Linked DNA regions of Homo sapiens: regions 1 and 2 are each linked to region 3. The links are contacts of gene promoters, found by promoter capture Hi-C in human tissues and cell types (Jung and others, 2019). All regions are on one chromosome and are shown on one strand. The core of a region is centred on a gene start or on the middle of the fragment in contact, and the rest is flanking DNA. Distances in the headings are between cores, read along the strand shown.

Region 1 (3,698 bases), core at 797-3,296, 270 kb before region 3:
GGACAGATATTATGATTGGGGAATTAATAAACCTCTGGATGTTAAACCACTGAGATTTCAGGGTAATGCTTTACTTTGGCAGGACAGTTTGAGTGACATACAAGAGGAAGCAATTGCAAAGTGAAATTGGAAGTCTTACAACAGAACTACAGTTGTCCAAAGTTGATAAAAATGTCATGGGAGATCAGATGAAAAGCCACTGAGGGCATGAATACATGAGGACTTGTCTGAGCTGGAGAAGTTCCCAATAAATGAGGAAAAAGCATTCAAAAGAATGCTTTAACTATCAAACAATTAAAAGTCACACTGGGAAAAATTGATAAAATCTTTGAGTATTTTATAACCATCATCTTGGTCAACAAAACTCAAATGTCAAGGGAAGATGTCACATCAAATGATCTGGTTGGAAGATGCAGCCTCCTAATATCAACACTTGGTTCATTCTTCTTTTATTCCAATAATTTGTGACGAGATAGTTACTACATTTTTTTGGAAAAAAATTAATTTGTAGTTTCATGTTTTGAAGTACAGTGCGAATCAGACCTTCTGTTCACTGGGATGAAATTGTAGCCCCAGTTTTAAATGGATTAATGCACGCACACACACACACTCACACACACACACACACACATACACTGTCTCTCTTTTTCTGAACCACTTGAGAGTAAGTTGCCTAAACCATACAACTAAGTGCTTTAGTGTGTATTTCTGAAAAACCAAGGACATTTTCTTTCTTTTCTTTTCTTTTCTTTTTTTTTCTTTTTCTTTTTTTTTTTTTTTTTTTTGAGACAGAGTCTCACTCTGTTGCCCAGGCTGGAGTACAGTGGTGCGATCTCAGCCCACTGCATCCTCTGCCTCCCAGGTTCAAGTGATTCTCCTGCCTCAGCCTCCTGAGTAGCTGGGACTACAGGCACGTGTCACCACGCCCAGCTAATTTTTGTATTTTTAGTACAGACAGGGTTTCACTATGTTGGCCAGGCTGGTCTCGAACTCCTGACCTCAGGTGATCCGCCTGCCTCGGCCTCCCAAAGTGCTGGGATTACAGGCGTGAGCCACCGCACCTGGTTGCACATTTTCTTACATAACCACACTATGATGATCACAATGGAGAAATTTAACGTGATACAATATAACTATCATATCTACAGTCCATAGTCAAATTTCCCCAATTAACCCAATAATGTTCTACATGGCTTTCTTTTTCCTGCCCCAGGATCCAATCCAAGCTGATACACTGCATTTTCGTTTCAGGTCTCTTTAGTCCCCTTTAATCTGGAATACTTCCTCAGGTCTGTCTTTGTTTTTCATAACATTGATATTATTTAAGAATATTGACCACTTATTTTGTAGAATGTCCCTCAAATTTGTGTTCGATGTTTCCTGATGATTCGATCCAGATTATATTTTTTAAGCAGGAATGGCATATGAGCCATGTGTCCTCAATGGATCCCACCAGGAGGTGCAGTATGCCAGTTTGTCCCATCATTGGTGATGCTAACTTTGATCACTGGGTTGTGTTCTGCCAGATTCTTTCACTGTACATTTCCCCTTTGTCATTAAAAAATACTTTGTAAGGCTGGGCATGGTGCCTCATGCTTGTAATCCCGGCACTTTGGGAGGCCGAGGTGGGTGGATCACCTGAGGTCTGGAGTTCGAGACCAGCCTGGCCAACGTAGTGAAACCCTGTCTCTACTAAAAACACAAAAATTAGCCGGGCGTGGTGGTGGGCACCTGTAATTCCAGGTACTCAGGAGGCTGAGGCAGGAGAATCACTTGAACCCAGAAGGCAGAGGTTGCACTGAGCCAAGAACGCGCCACTGCACTCCAGCCTGGGTGACAGAGAGAGATTCCATCTCAAAAAAAAAAAAATTGTAGAAGTGATATTTGATAAAATACACATAACATTTACTATTAGTGTAAATGAGACACATTACATTCCCAATATTGTATATCCATCACCACTATCCAGTTCTAGAACGTTTCATCACCCCCAAAGTAAATTGTGTACTCACTAAGCAGTTATTCCCTATTCTCCCTTCCCCCAACCCCCAGCAACAAATAATATACTTTCTGTTTCTATGGATTTGTCTATTTTAGATATTTCATATCGTTGGAATCATACAATAGTGTGGCCTTTTGTGTCTGTCTTCTTTCATTTAGCACAGTGTTTCAAAGGTCCATCCATGATGTGGCATGTGTGGGAAGGTATTTTGAGATAATGTAAAGATCCTCTCTCAAGAAACTTTCACTCAGAGTTTAAGCATTCACTGATATTTCTGAAATAGGATTTTCGTTTGTTTGTTTTTGAGACAGAGTCTTGCTCCGTTGCCCAGGCTGGAGTGCAGTGGCACAATCTCGGCTCACTGCAACCTCTGCCTCCCGGGTTCAAGCGATTCTCCTGCCTCAGCCTCCCCAGTAGCTGGGACTACAGGCACGTGCTACTACGCCTGGCTAATTTTTGCATTTTTAGTAGAGACAGAGTTTCACTGTGTTTGCCAGGCTGGTCTCAAACCCTTGACCTCATGTGATCTGCCTGCCTTGGTCTCCCGAAGTGCTGGGATTACAGACGTGAGCCACCATCCCCAGAGCAAAATAGGATCATTTTAAAAGGCCTTTTTCTGGTACCAACTATTCCCCCTCCTCTAGTGGACATGCACTGACTGCACAAACCCTCCACCTTTTCACTGCCAGCTCTCCTCTCCAACCATGCTCATTCTCATCCCCATTATCCCCCCACGGAATGGATCAAGGCTCATGGGCTCATACAGGGTCCACTCCTTGAGACCCAGGACACACTAACAATGAGCCAGGAGCTGTATGGCTGCAGAACTCAGTCTGAGAGGTCCTGGCTGTGATTCTGTGCATCACCAATTAGAAGGACCCAATGAACCAGCTTGGAGATTCTTCTAATTCTTTCAAAAAAGACAAATTCCCCTTTGTTTAGGCCTGCGTCATTCTTAGCTGCCACCATATGCTGCTGCCTCCAAAATGATGCATTCCCTTTTTTTTTTTTTTTTAATAGATGCATTTCTGACCCTGGGGGGAAAAAGGGCTCATGTACCACGCTGAATGCCCTGTTACTTTAACATCAGCAGGAATGCCCAAATGCCAACTTCACCAGGGCCATTAACTCCAGGGTGATAATAGCTTCATATGTTGTCCAGCTGGGATGACACAAATGCATATGGACATGTAACTAAAACTTTCTAGAAAATAATAATTAAAAAGAAAAAAGGTTTTAACCCATTCTTTCCCAAAGGATGGAATTAAAATGTTATAAGGCATGATTTTGGACAGTGCATTGATAGGGCATTAAGCAACATTGAACCACATGGTGAAAAAGTTCCCATTCCAATCCTACTGAGTTCACCAAGGAAAAGACCCAGTTTGGTGCTAGTCAGTCTCCAATACTTGCTAATTTCTTTTTGACAAAAAGAGAAAACAGATCTTTGGTTAAAATGTATTTGTAGCTAGAATTTAATAGCATCATTCTGAGTTTATTGTATTTATTTTTAACGTTCTTTCTTTTTATAAGGAAGAAACACCACGTATAGCAGTGATATAAAGTATTTTAAAACCAAGTTATTGAAGCTTTAAAAGTGAACAATTTAGGGAAAATGTTATGTAAGTAAAAGGACAGGTGGTCCTCAGTGTCAGTAGAAATCCTCAGGGTGGTTGTCAAATGCTGATGTCTGGGA
Region 2 (3,858 bases), core at 398-2,897, 290 kb before region 3:
GTTATTGTTCTTGAATAACTGGTAATAAGCACCAAGTGAGGGCTGATTCTATCTACAGGTAAGAAGCTTGGATGTTTTCTCCCTGATTTTGTCATTTCTTTCCAACTTCCCAAATGCATGTCATACAGCAGGGAAGAGGCATCTCTCATGTCTCAAAAAAGCTTAATGGCACAGGTGGATGTGGGCACTGAATGTTGTACAGCAGTGGCAACCAGCCGGGAAAATCCATAGGATCATTTCAGACCGCATTCAACACAGATACTCATGTAGCCCCGACGTTTCTTGTGAAGGGAATTGATGTATTGCTTGAGGGGGTCGATCTCTGGTTCTAAGGTGTTTTGTTTGTTTCCATCGTGACTACCAGAAAATTATAGAAGGCCAGACGCAGTGGCTCATGCCTGTAATCCCAGCACTTTGGAAGGCTGAGGTGGGCGGATCACCTGAGGTTGGGAGTTCGAAACCAGCCTGACCAACATGGAGAAACCCCATCTCTACTAAAAATACAAAAATTAGCTGGGCATGGTGGGACATGCCTGTAATCCCAGCTACTCGGGAGGCTGAGGCAGGAGAATCACTTGAACCCAGGAGGCAGAGGTTGCGGTGAGCCAAGATGGTGCCACTGCACTCCAGCCTGGGCAACAAGAGCAAAACTCAGTCTCAAAAAAAAAAAAAAAAAAGAAAAAGAAAAAAGAAAATTATAGAAAAGCCACCAAGGTAGAAAGTTTCAAGGGAACTTAAGATTCAACTTCCTCCATGAGCTTGGGTAGCATCCTGTTAACCCTAGGGGTGTAAGCCACATTCTTGCCCACAATATGACTAGTGAGAGTATCTCATGGAGGCAGGAGGTGACATTTGTCCTGTCTCTGGCCCCAGGTCACCCTGTACTGCATTGGTGGCTTCTCCATAGGGAGGGGGTCCTATCTCATAGACTCCAAACTTCATGATGGCAGGGAGGATATCTGGATTTGCTCACCCCTGTATTTTCAGAGCCTCACACAGTGCCTGGAACATGGTAAACATTTAATACTATCTGTCAAAAACAAATGAATGAAAGAGCAGATGGAAAGAGCCAATCCTGCATTGAAGAGATATCCATGGTGGCCCTAAAACTACTCAAACCAGATGTCTCTTCAGCTCCACTGGAACTGAGCTGATGGCAAACCACCACTCCACTCAGCAGAAGGTCAAGTGCAAAAGTATTTAAATAGCACGAGGTCCCACACCCCATCCCAGGACAGCCCCCAGCATCCTGCTCCAACATAAGCAGAAAAAGACAATGAGGTGCAAAGAGCTTATCTCCTGGGATGGTTCCTGGGTGGTCTGCATTGCCACACAGCATCATGCTTTGATCCTGAAGGACAAGGCCCCAAAAGCCCTATTTCTCAGCACAGTCTTAAAATCACCTGGAAATCATTCACCCAGACCCTCTGAATCAGCCTGTCCCAAGCAGCACGGGAACCCCTAAAGCTTGAAAACTCCAGCTCTATGGGACCCTCTCACCGCATTTACTGTCGGGACCATGGGCCCCTCCACAGACATGTTTTCTGGGTGTTACACAGACAGGTACTGCCCAATAACTGTCATCTGCACGAACTGAATGGAGCTATATTTAGACTGATCTAAATACCTAAATGCCTCCAGGAGCATTTAATAATAGGCACGCGTAAAGCAGCCTCCCTACCATGCCACAGGCCTCGATTTTGAATCGTTTTATTTTTGAGACGGAGTCTCAGACTGTCGCCTGGGCTGGAGTGCAGTGGTGAATCTCGGCTCACTGCGACCTCCGCCTCCCAGTTTCAAGCGATTCTCCTGCCTCAGCCTCCTAAGTAGCTGGGATTACAGGCACCTGCCACCACACCGGGCTAATTTTGTTGTATTTTCGGTAGAGACGGGGTTTCACCATGTTGGCCAGGCTGGTCTTGAACTCCTGACCTTGTGATCCACCTGCCTCAGCCTCCCAAAGTGCTGGGATTACAGGTGTGAGCCACCGCACCCAGCTGATTTTGAATTCTTAGTGGTGTTCTTTGCAGCCTCCATCACAGTGTGTAATTAGTTTCTTTTCTTTTTTTTCTTTTTTTGAGATGGAGTCTCACTCTGTCACCCAGGCTGGAGTGCAGTGGCACGGTCTCGGCTCACTGCAACCTCCACCTCCCATTTCAAGTGATTCTCCTGCCTCAGCCACCTGATAGCTGGGATTACAGGCATGCACCACCACGCCCAGCTCATTTTTGTATTTTTAGTAGAGACAGGTTTTACCATTTTGGCCAGGCTGGTCTTGAACTCCTGACCTCAGGTGATCCACCCGCCTCAGCCTCCCAAAGTGCTGGGATTACAAGCATGAGCCACTGTACCCAGCCAGTTTTTCTAATTAAGTTTTAATCTGTCTCCTCCACTAGGCCATGAGCCCTAGGAGGAGATTGTCTCTAGAGGGTATCCCCTGTGCCTGGCACATGCATGCAAGTTATGATTTATGTTGATGAATGAATGAATGAATGAATGAATGAATGAATGAATGAATGGTGGATGGGTCCTCTGAGGCTCTAGAAATAGGGGTGAGAGGCCAGCCAGGTGTAGCATGAAGGGCTGGACAAGAAGGGAGAGGCCTTCTGGGATAAGATGGGAAGGAGGCTGTACCCCACACCCTGAAGGTGTCTATGAGTTCACATGGCTCAGGAATGGAGTTTTGGGGCCCTAGATGTAGACAGCTGTGGCGATGGAGGCCAAGGTTTTGGCCTGCTGTGGGGGTTGCATTCACCTCCCCATCTCCACATGACGATACCCCAGCATTTACGAGGCAGCTCTGCTGACCTGGCCCAGGCACCGTGGTCCCCAACTTCAACGCATCTGAAGCGTTGCCCAGGGAGCGCGTTAGAAATGCAGATTCCCTGGCCCCATCCCTTGAAGACTCTGATTCTGTAGGTCTGGGGTGAGGGGGGGGGCGCTGTAGGTTTTGCCTAAAGACGAGTCTAAATCTGGCACGCAGGTTAAGGATGACCATTCCTAAGGCAAGCAGGTGACACTGTCGGCAAATTGAGGTGAGACTTTTTCTGACCCACCCCGATACCGGAGGGATGGCTGGGCTCTGGTTTGGATACAGACAGAATGCCAGGGACTACACCTGCTTCTCACTTGGAACTTGGGTGAAACCTCTCAGGAAGCTGTCATTCTTCTCCTATACCCCACCTCACCCTCTTCCACCCACCACTAGCAGAGAGATTCGGGAGGGGCTTGGGCCAGCTGAAACCCATAGGAAGCACGTCCCCAGAGACCCGGCTTTCCCAGCCTCTCCTCTCCTCCCATCACAGCCCCATGGTTAAGAAATGTCCTGCCGAGTGCTTTTGGATTTGAGCATTGCTGGATTTTTGCTTGTGTCTTGTTGAGACTTTTGAGTGGGCAGCAGTTCTGAATACCAGCCTTCATAGTCTATTCTCTGATCTCAAGAATGCAAAAACTCTTCTCTCTTTTGGATTTTTTTTTTCTTTTTTCTTTTTTTTTTTTTTTTTTTTTTTTTTTTGGCTTTTAAAGGAAACAATACGTTTGCTAGAAAAACCTCAAAAAATAATGATTATATACAAAATGGTTATCTGAATGTGGATTCTGTACTGCAGCAGAAGCAACCCAGCTCCGGAACTCTATTTGCGCTTCCTCAGTATCAGGTACATCATGCCGCTGATGAAGGTGCAGGCGAAGGCCACCCACGCCAGGATGTAGGAGTAGCCGTAGCTGCCTTCTCTGGTCACGGGATAGAATTTCGCGTTTTTGTCGTGAATGTCTTCACGCCTGTCTGTATAAATGGAGGCCGCAATCATGACACACAGACCTGTCAGGAAGAAAGGTGAATTTTCAATAAATCATGGA
Region 3 (3,852 bases), core at 558-3,057:
AGATGTGAACATGCTATAACACTGGCCTTGAAGACGGAGGAACAGGCCACAAGCCACAGAATGCCAGCAGTCACCAAAAGCTGGAAAAGGCAAAGAATGGATTTTCCCCTAATTCTTCCGAAGGGAGTGTGGCACTGCTGCCACCTTGGTTTCAGCCCAGGAACACTGACTGTGGACTTCTGGCCTCCAGAACTGCAGGAGAATAAACTTCTTTTGTCTTAAGCCAAGATGATAATGGTAATTTGTTCTAGCGGCCATAGGAAACTAATACAGTCTATTACTTTCTGGGGTTTATTAGGTTTGAATCAGAGAGTTTGATTTTAAAAACAGAGACTTTACAAGGAATGGCATTTGGGTGCCAGGGCTCGTCCCATGCCTACTGGCTCTGATAGCTGGAAGCAGAACTGGGTGGGTGAGTGAGGCTGAGCTGTGGGTGTTTCTAGAAGTGGCTGCCGCCTGGGCCATCGGCAACCACGTTCACAGGTCATCCCTCATGCCTTGGTCATGCCACCTTCTGGGATGCTAGAGGTCTCAGGCAGTTAAGTGACTTGACCCAGGACAAGTCTGTCTAGCTAGACTCAGCAGGGATTAGAATAAAACTCCAAGCTCTCTTCCACTTGTCCAGCCCACTGCCAAGCTTGCTCCCCTCTGGCCTCAGTGGCTTTCTCTGATCTTACAACATAGCCCCAGGGCCTTTGCGCTTGCTGTTCCTTCAGCTTGGAACACTCTCCCTCTGGAGTCTCCCATGGCTGGCTGCTTCTCATCATTCTGGTCTCAGCTCAAATGCCACCTCCTCAGAGAGGCCCTCCATGGCTGCACTAAGGCAAGTGGCCTTCTCTAGTTACCTTCTCTTTCATCACAGGGCTGATTTTCTTCTCACATTCAATTATCTCATTAATCTCCTTGCCTGTTCAACATCAACTCCACCCCTTCTTCCTCCCTCTCCCAATGCAGGCTCCAGGAGGGCAGGGACTTTGTCTGATGTGTCCACAGATATGTCCCCAGCCCCAGACCTGGCACACAGTAGGTGCTCAATATATTTTGAATGAATGAGTGAGTAAATGAATGAATTTGCAGCTTTGGGGAACGCCTGACCCAAGCTCCATCCCAACACACCTGATCTTGGCTTTCCTAAAGGCCAGCTCCTCCTCGTTTCCAAAGTCCAGGGACACATCCTCGGTATCGTCCACCAGGGCCTGGGAGGAGAGCAAGGGCAGGTGGCAGGCCCAAGCACGGCGCACACCCCAACCCCACCCGCCCTGTCCTCCTGGGCTTGGACTCCACTTGCACCCCACCGGGTTCCCAAGTGGACCCTCCGAGCTGGCGGGGCCCCTCCGCTGCGGCTGCAGTGCAAAGCCCTCTCCACCCTCCCGACCACCGGGTGCAGCCCAGCCCCAGGCCCCGGCGCATCCCTCCTCCTCCTCCCGGCTTCTCCAGCGCTCCCGCAGGCTCCCCTCGTCCCGCCCCGCCTCCAGCCCCAGCATCCCCGAGGCCCTACCTGCTTCATCACCCTCCCAGGAGCCCACCTGGCGCCCAGGCCCGGGGCTCCAGCTCCGCCCGTCGCCGCTGAAGGGGTCGGACGCCGGGCGGGCGGATGTAGGCAGCAGACGGTGGACGCTGAGGGTCGGGGCCTGCGCCCTGTGGGGCAGCCTCAGCGCAGCTTCTCGGGTGGGGCGGGGCGCTCGGGGCCTAAGGCGCAGTCGCAGGCTGGGGAGGGGGCTCGGCTCGCCGGGGACGCGCCCAGGAGAGAAAGCGGCGGCAGGGAGGCAACGGCCTGGGGAACTGCGGACAGAGATAGTGGGAGGAATGGGAGTCGGGGGCGGGGGGCGGCTGCGTCAGCGAATGGTGTGGACGGCGCATAAACGTGGATGTAGCGAATGATAAGGCAGTGAATGAATGTCAGTGGTGGGCAGCCGCATTCAGGGTTGGGAGAAGGTCAGTGTTTCCCAACAGTCTCTGCGCGCAAGAAATTCCCAGGAACCTTGTGAAAAGCAGATTCTCAGGCCCGGCCCGGGGGATGTGGAAGGCCTGGAGTGGGGCCCTAGAATCTGCCTTCCCCGCGCCCCCACCCCCCACGACAAAATGCAGTTAGGATGGGCCCTGCTGTGTTCTTTTTTGGGGGGTGGGGTGGGGAAGGCAGATTCTAGGGCCCCACTCCAGGCCTTCCACATCCCCCGGGCCGGGCCTGAGAATCTGCTTTTCACAAGGTTCCTGGGAATTTCTTGCGTGCAGAGATTGTTGGGAACATTCTCTGCACCTAGGCTGGAGAGCACTGGTGCCATCGTAGCTCACTGTGGCCTCAAACTCCAGGGCTCAAGCAGTCCTCCCGCCTCAGCCTCCCGAAAAGCTGGGACCACAGGCTGCACCACCACACCTAGCTAAATTTTTATTTTTGTAGAGAGGAGGGTCTCACTATGTCGCCCCGGCTAGTCTTGAACACCGAGGTTCAAGCCATCCTCCTGCCTCAGCCTCCCAAAGTGTTGGGATTACAGGAGTGAGCCACCACACCCGGCCTCACCTGCCTTTTAAGGGGTGGCGCTGCTATAGCCACAGCTTCAGAACCACAGTGAGATCTGCGTGCATCGCCGTGCCAGGCACTTATTAAGCGCAAAGTTATTAGTAGTATTAATACTATTATTGACAGTAATAGTAGTGTTTCTTGAAGTGAAAGTCTTCCTGGGTACCTCCCAGGAAAGAAAACTTGTCACCTGAGGGTCTTTCCTGGCCCAGGACACAGTGACTCTCCTCTCCTGCGTGCCCTCTCCCTGTCCTGATCCCCCACCCACGGACAGAGGGCTGAGCATCGAGATGCCAAAGCCAGTGACCCTGCCCTTTGCCCTCCCACCATGGACAATAGGTACGTGTCCCCTGCCCCTGGTGACCCCAAAGAGGGCTCCTGGGCCACAAGCCCCTGACACATTTTCCCCACTGCTGGTCTCCATGGGCGGAGGTGGAGGCAGGAGCTGTCTCATCTCTGATCCTGGGCCTGGGTTCCAGGCTTTCTGTCCTCCGCCCCCACCCCAATTCCCTAAGCTGACCCCACAAGGGCCTGCCAGGTGTGTGTGGAGGGAAAGTGCTTTCTCCTATGCCATTTCTCTTTTTTTTTTTTTTTGAGATGGAGTTTCCCTCTTGTCACCCAGGCTGGAGTGCAATGGTGCGATCTCGGCTCACTGCAACCCCTGCCTCCCGGGTTCCTGCAATTCTCCTGCCTCAGCCTCCCAGGTAGCTGGTATTACAGGCGCCTGACATCAACCCGGGTAATTTTTGTATTTTGTATTTTTAGTAGAGAGGGGGTTTCACCATGTTGGCCAGGCTGGTCTCCAACTCCTGACCGCAGGTGATCCACCCACCTTGGCCTCCCAAAGAGCTGGGATTACAGGCATGAACCACTGCACCCAGCCTCTACTATGCGATCTTCAGGAACCAAGATTTATATATATACAATGTGTATATATGTGTGTGTGTATGTATATATATATATATATATATATATATATATATATATATATATATATGTATATGTATATATATTTGCCAAACTCTGCTGCGATTTGGATAGCTTCTAAAAGACACACTGCCCAGATTGTGTTATGGACCAATTAAATCAGGCTCTCTGGGGATGGGACCCTATACCAGTGCTTTTAAAGCTCCCAGGTGTTGGGCTGCAAGGTAAAGAACCAGTGATTTAAATGAGTGCTTCTGACCCCTCAATCTGCAAATGAATCTCCTGGGGTTGGCTTAGAAGCTGGATGCTGACTCAGCGTTCTGGGGGTCTGGGGGTCTGGGCAGGGGCTGAGATTCTTTCTTCCTTTCTTTCCTTCCTTTCTTTTCTTTTCTCCTTCCTTCCTTCCT

Evidence for each region. Contacts are between HindIII fragments. The study calls those that stand out against the background at their distance.
Region 1: a fragment that was not itself captured here is called in contact with the fragment with the promoter of TVP23A in region 3 in 1 of the 25 tissues and cell types used here (thymus).
Region 2: a contact is called between a fragment that was not itself captured here and the fragment with the promoter of TVP23A in region 3, in 2 of the 25 tissues and cell types used here (liver and thymus).

Annotation. Positions count from the first base shown.
Region 1 is chr16:10,549,119-10,552,816 of GRCh38, forward strand. All of the region lies in intron 1 of EMP2 (epithelial membrane protein 2), which reads right to left. Among named protein-coding and RNA genes, the nearest start is that of LINC01290, 23 kb to the left of the region's middle. The HindIII fragment of the contact is 3,255 bases long and covers 420-3,674 here.
Region 2 is chr16:10,529,273-10,533,130 of GRCh38, forward strand. It overlaps EMP2 (epithelial membrane protein 2), which reads right to left. Exons shown (of 5, transcript NM_001424.6): 5 at 1-3,820. The coding sequence ends at 3,633. Among named protein-coding and RNA genes, the nearest start is that of LINC01290, 3.0 kb to the left of the region's middle. The HindIII fragment of the contact is 3,069 bases long and covers 114-3,182 here.
Region 3 is chr16:10,816,987-10,820,838 of GRCh38, forward strand. TVP23A (trans-golgi network vesicle protein 23 homolog A) reads right to left here and starts at 1,808. Exons shown (of 8, transcript NM_001079512.4): 1 at 1,499-1,808; 2 at 1,117-1,196. The coding sequence starts at 1,507. The HindIII fragment of the contact is 21,418 bases long and covers 1-3,852 here.